2 separate regions of the Homo sapiens genome follow, and region 1 is linked to region 2. Evidence: promoter capture Hi-C in 16 types of primary human blood cells and fetal thymus (Javierre and others, 2016). All regions are on one chromosome and are shown on one strand. Each heading gives the region's core, a stretch centred on a gene start or on the middle of the fragment in contact. The rest is flanking DNA. Distances are from core to core; before and after follow the strand shown.

Evidence for each region. The method cuts DNA at HindIII sites, captures the fragments that hold promoters and counts their contacts. A CHiCAGO score of 5 or more calls a contact.
Region 1: a fragment that was not itself captured here is called in contact with the fragment with the promoter of RNF152 in region 2 in 1 of 17 cell types (M0 macrophages); the score reaches 5.7 in M0 macrophages.

Annotation. Positions count from the first base shown.
Region 1 is chr18:61,711,166-61,714,315 of GRCh38, forward strand. No RefSeq gene overlaps it. Among named protein-coding and RNA genes, the nearest start is that of LINC01544, 35 kb to the right of the region's middle. The HindIII fragment of the contact is 2,905 bases long and covers 216-3,120 here.
Region 2 is chr18:61,891,236-61,894,510 of GRCh38, forward strand. It overlaps RNF152 (ring finger protein 152), which reads right to left and starts at 1,772. Exons shown (of 2, transcript NM_173557.3): 1 at 1,560-1,772. RefSeq lists silencers at 2,958-3,107, 3,178-3,275. The HindIII fragment of the contact is 8,244 bases long and covers 1-3,275 here.

The DNA.
Region 1 (3,150 bases), core at 418-2,917, 180 kb before region 2:
CTAACCCCTGGCACTCAGGCAATCACGCCAGAATGAAGGGAAGCTATCTTGGGCATTCCAGAACCCCAAACTAGAAAGCAGCTGTGGGCTTTCCTAGGGATGGCAGGCTTCTGTGATTTTTGGGTGCCTGGATTTGGGCATATAGCTAAGCCTTTATATTAGGCTCTGAAAGGAGCAGATGTATATCTTTTTGAATGGGATAGTAACTGTAAACAAGCTTTTAATGCCCTCAAAGAGAAATTGGGATCAGCTCCAGCCCTAGGAATCCCTAATCTTAATAAGCCATTTTTCCTCTATATGACTGAAAAACAGGGAACACCCCTAGGTGTCCTTGTATAGAAGTTGGGAGATATTCCCCAACCAGTGGCATATTTTTCTAAGCAATTAGACCATGTCGCTTTGGGATGGCCTGGATGCCTCAGGGCAGTTGCTGCAACTGCTCTCTTGGTAGATAAAGCCAATAAACTGACTTTAGGACCAGTCTGAAGGTTTTAAACCCACACCAAGTACAAGGAATCCTAGAAGCTAAAGGACACCAGTGAATGACAGGGGGACACTTATTGAAATATCAGGCTTTATTACTAGACACTCCTGATATAACACTTAAAGTATGCTGGACATTGAATCCAGCTACCTACTTGCCTGCACCCACAGGTGCCCTAGATTATTCTTGTACACAAGTTACTCCAGCCATCCAGATTTAAAGGATGAACCTCTAGAAAATCCTGAGTAGAATGGTTTACAGACGGAAGTAGCTTTGTGCACCAGGGAAATGGGAAAGCTGGGTATGCTGTTGTCAGTCAAGACAAGGTAATTGAATCTCAGGCCTACCAGCTTCTACCTCAGCTCAAAATTTGGAATTAGTGGTTTTTATTAGAGCCCTGCAATTGGAAAAGGACTGAAGAATTAGCATTTACACTGATTCTAAGTATGCTTTTCTGGAACTTCATTCTCATGCTGCTATCTGGAAGGAACGGAGACTCCTAACTGCTAAGGGTTCCCCCAATAAAACGTCACGTAGAAATTCTAAATCTATTAGATGCTGTTTTGCTGCCCAAGGAAGTAGCTGTAATCCATTGCAGAGGACATCAAAGAGGAGACTCTAGTGTGGCTAAGGGAAACGCCTTTGCAGATGCAGCTGCTAAGGCAACAGCGTTAAAGGAGCCCGCTGGACTTGTAGGTATGTTAGTGCCCTCACACACGGTAATGACAGAACCTAGGTATACTAAAGAGGAAAAAGAAAGGGCTAAAGGTTATGGTTTAATTCAAAATCCTTCTGACTGGCTTATCAATGACAACAAACTGTTAATACCAGATGCTAATCAGTGGAAAATAGTTAAGCATTTGCATAACTCTACTCATTTGGGAAGAGATTCCCTGTTTCAATTAATGTTGCAGCTTTTTATAGGAAAAGGCTTTCTTAAAACAGTAAAGCAGGTAACTCGGGCCTGTGAATTATGTACCTGGAATAAACCAGATAACCAATCTTTACCTCCTCCTCTAGTAAGGCCTGTTCAGCATAGGGGAACGTACCCTGGTGAAGATTGGCAAATAGACTATACTCAAATGCCCCCATGTAAAGTGTTTTAATATTTATTAGTATTCATTGACACCTTTACTAGTTGGATTGAGGCTTTTTCTACTCAGTCTGAAAAGGCAATTGAGGTTGCTAAACTTCTACGAAAGGAAATAATTCCTAGATTTGGGCTGCCTAAGACTTTGCAGAGTAATAATGGCCCATTTTTCACAGCGACAATTACCCAAAACATATCTTTTGCCTTAGGAATTCAGTACTGCCTTCACTCGGCGTGGAGGCCAGTTTTCAGGGAAAGTAGAAAGAGCTAATCAAACTCTAAAAAGGACTCTTGCTAAATTATGCCAAGAGGCATCAGAAACCTGGCTGTATGTATTACTTGTAGCCTTATTATGGGTTCCAGTGGCCCCCTAAGGGTTCCAGCTCAGCCCTTTTCTATGGAAGGCCTTTCTTAACTACAGACCTCCTAATAGATATAGATACTTTCAAGCTACAAATTATGTGATCAACTTAGGACAAGTGCAAAATGCACTCCTTGAATATGGAAATCAAAGACTTCCTTCCCCCACTAAGGAAGAGAATTTTGTTATAACCCAGCCTGGAAACTGGGTCCCATTAAACACTTGGAAGGAAGGATCCCCAGCAGATCAACTTCCCCAAAATGGAAGGAACCCTATTCAAATTCTTCTTAGTACCCCAACTGCAGTTAAACTTCTGGGAATAAACATCTGGGTCCACTTATCTCGAATTAAACCTGTCTCTTATGAAATCTCACAGGCCGACAGAACACAAGAGACTGATTCCTGTGAGCCAACCAGTGACCTCTGACTGCTGTTCAGAAGAAATAAAAGGGATGGGTAACATAAAGATATGGATTGGCATTCTACTTTTGGGTATAAGTTGGAATCATGCAGATAGTAACTTATTTACCAAGTGGGCACAGACTTTAGCCTCTCTACATAATCACATGAACTGTTGGGTATGTGGAGAATTGCCACTTTCCTCCACTTCCAGGTTGTTCTGGCATATTCAACTGGCCAACCCAAGTTTATAGGAATTTTATTATGATTGGGAAACTGAACATTATAAACACAGCTCCTCTTTTTCCATGTATCATAGCCACACAAGCCTTAGCCCCTTTCCCTCCTATAAAGAGACAAGAAGGCACTTTTTAAATCTAATCAAAAACAGCTAAACTCCACCCCAGCTTTAGGTTATGCTTTACATAATGAACTTGGGTGAATAACAACTGTTCAAGGGCAGGTGTCGGGCAAGGCACCTCCAGGTTTCGAAAGGCACAACAATAGTCACCACCAGACTGAAACCCAGGATACGAGATGGCTGTCATTTCAACAACGTAATCAGACCCTTCTTCTAACAGACCAGATTTGGATGGGATGGCAAAATAATTTGCCAAAAATGAGTGCCTACCCTTCTGCTTCGGGATGGTTATGGGCTTGTAGAACTCATGGCTGGCCATACTTACCTTATAACTGAACTGGAAGGTGTTCGTGGGGTTGTCCTTATCTCCCAGGACACAACCTCACCAAATTGCACTCTCTGTCATCTAACTGGGAAATTGTAAAAGCTTGCCATAAGCGACAAAAGTGGGCATC
Region 2 (3,275 bases), core at 522-3,021:
GTGGGGAGCCTCCTTCTTATATAAAAAAAATTAAGCATCAATGGACACTTTATTATGATTTATTACTGTACACAATTTAAAACCACAATGAAACCTAACACTGCACTGTGGCTATCTTTGTTCTTGGACGTGCATTTACATGGGCAGGCTACTGTTTTGCCATGTGGAATTTTGTGTGCGAAGTGTTTATTCTTTCTATTAAAAAAAAAACCACACCCTTGTTTCTATTGCATTATTACATTCCCTATTATCCCATCACATGTTTTTTCTTCTTGCAGCAACACAGTACACACCCTGTACTATTGCTGACATAAAAATTACTTGTCAAAAATACCTCTATCTTAGCACCACATTACTCATCTGATCTTTGCAAAGCACTGGCCTTTGTTTCACCTGGGACTAGATAACTCAACTGCTTTTACTAGTGACTCCTGAATGCTTGTAGTAGAAGGATAAATGCTAGTGTCACCTATGTTTTTAAAGTCACCTTCCAAAACAAAACTACATTGGAGGTGAATAATAAATCTTTCAAGTTTTTAACTTCATTTTTCAAGGGATTTGGAGGAAAATGGTGAAGAGAGAATCTGTCACAGATACCAAGGTGTTACTGCAATGTAAAAGAGAGTAGACCAGGAGCCTTTGGCCCTCAGCAATCTGTCTTCCTACAAGAAAAATCGAAAGCCCATTTCCATAACCATTCTTATTCCCTGCTACTAGTGTAGGATGCGCAGGACTCTGCCCTCTAGCAGAAAATGCTAATGCCGGAGTGTCCTGCTAAGTCTGAAGGTTACGTTTTTTCATTGCACTCTTATCAAGATAACCCCAGATCTGGCTAGGCTGACATCAAAACAGAACTATCCTTGGAAAGAAAAGAACAGGCCAGAGTTTTTGGAAAAGCCCCAATAACCTAAAGATAAAATCCAGAATGAGAGTCTACTGGTTCATGGCTATCTAAATGGAAACTTCACTCAAGCTGTTTTCTCTGTTCTCTTTCTGCTGCCCCCAACAGCCCTCCCTTCCACCTCCCAGTACTCACTGCTAGCATGTCTCTCTTAATATTGCAAACACTATTACAATGAAGGAACAGAAGAAAGACAGTATTTCATACGAAGGTCACTGCATTTGACCGGTGCTCAATTAGAGCACTGGGCAAAAGTACAATCAGCCTTCCAATGATACCTTTTCAACAAAGGATACCCCACCTCTAGACTGAAGCCTAAATCTATTACTACAGATAAGAAAGCAGGCATCTATGGAAACCTAACATTCAGATACAACTGCCTGTGTATGAATTATATCAAAATTCCCATGAAAGGAAACCAGGTGGGATTTCTACAATCCCAAATTCACCCTGCACCTACCTCCAATGGCTTCTTCAAAGGGAAGGTATAAAGTCATTTGCAATTTATTTCTTTGAACCAGGAGTTTTAGCAGCCCCCACACCTTCTCACAGATAGGAACGATGTTGATGCAGAAACCACCCAAACAGCCCTGTGCCAGCACTGTCGGCCCAAATGACCCAGAGACACCCAGGCGCTACCCAGATCGTGGGGGGTTACCTGTATCTGTCACCGAGTCTCTTTCACCCCTTCTGCGTGATGACATCAAGTGGAAATGGTACACGTTTAGGAGGCAAGAGGCTGACAGGCAGGAAACACAATTGAGACTGAGCTTTCTTCAGCCTGCAGTGAAATACATGCAGGAAGGGTTAGATACGCGCCGCGGAGAAGGAAATCCAAGCGCCCTCCTGGGCAGACGGGGCTGGAGCGGGTGCACTAGGGAGGTGGAGCAAGGCAGATGAGGTGTGGAGGGCTGGCGGCCGAGAAGGGGGCGTCACGGCTCCTAATTGTCTCTACAGGATAAATAACCACCTCCCCCCTCCTCCGCAGTCTCCCCCGCCCACGAGTTCCCCTCTGGTGGCAGAGCGCCTACTAGCAACAGTAAGCCCTAGGAAAGAAAGAAATCGGAGCAGGTGGGGAATAACATCTTGGGGCAAAGACACACTGGCAAAATCTACCAGGTAACCCGGTCATATGGGAATGCGGGGCGCCTAGTCAGCCGCGCAGACAGGCACACAGCGCGGCAATCCCGAGCATCTTTCTTTCGTTTGCCCCTGTCCGCCACCTCATCAAGTCACCGCCACCTCATCAAGTCACCGTCACCTCATCAAGTCACCGTCACTCTGCTTTGGCGATTTCTCTACTCTCTCCAGACCCAGGCAGCGCTCCCCAAGCCATGCCCCGACCCCAGGCGGGATTGGGGACCGCCGCTTCCCGAGCAGCGCCCCACGAGTCCAGCTGGCTTTGTCCTGCCGCTGTCCTTCCAGGAGCAAGCGCCCCAGGCGCGTGTGTCTGCACAAAAGACCCCCAACATCTGGCCCTTCACAGCGCTCTCTAATCCCGGGAGGGGCCCTGGGGCAACTTCTAGGGCTGGAGAAGGCGCGAGACAAGGGGACCGGGAGAAGATGAGCCGGGGTGTGTGCGGGCCGGGGGCGCAACTGGGGCGGGCGCGCGCGCACGTGCACACCCAGGGGCGCGCGCGGCGCGGGCACGAGGAAAGCTCCCTCGGACCGGAGCTCCAGGGGGCATCCGAGGACTCGGCCGAGCAGCCGACAGCGCCGCTCCCCGCCGCGGCCGCCCGCCCAACTCCGCCAGCTCTCAGGAGACACGCAACTCCCGGGACCACCTCCCCCGTGCCCCGCCAGACCCCGCGCTCCCCTCCCCGGGACCCTGCGGCCCCGCCACCCCCTCCGCGGTCCAGAAGATCTCCCCAGTTACAGCAGGCGGCAGCTGCCCTTTCCCGCTTCCACGGCTTCGGCGCGGCCGCCGTAGGGGCGCAGACATCCCTGCGCACCCCTCTGTCCGCCCCCGATCCGGAGCCGGCAGAGCAGAGAAACAAACCGAAACTCACTGACCTTTCTCCGCGGCGGGCTCGGGTGCTCGCTACAGAGGCGGCGGCGGCGGCGACAGCATCGCCGGGTGGTCCCGGCGCGCCCGCTCCTTTCAGCCAGACTCGCGCCCCGGGCCGGCGGCCGCCGCTCCTCCGGCCGAGAGCCACGGGGCGGACGCTGACAGCGCGGCGGCGGCGCCTGCAGCCCCAGCACCCGGCCCGGCCCTTCGGGCGGCACCCCCACCTGCCCGGCCGCCCTCCGCGTTCGCGGTCGGACACCGCCGCCAGGCGCTCGGCACCGAGCGAGAGCTTTTTGTGTCACTGAGACTCCGGCACCAAAGGGGGTGGGGGGAGAGGCTGGGCTCCGCTCCCCGCGGCACCGCCCT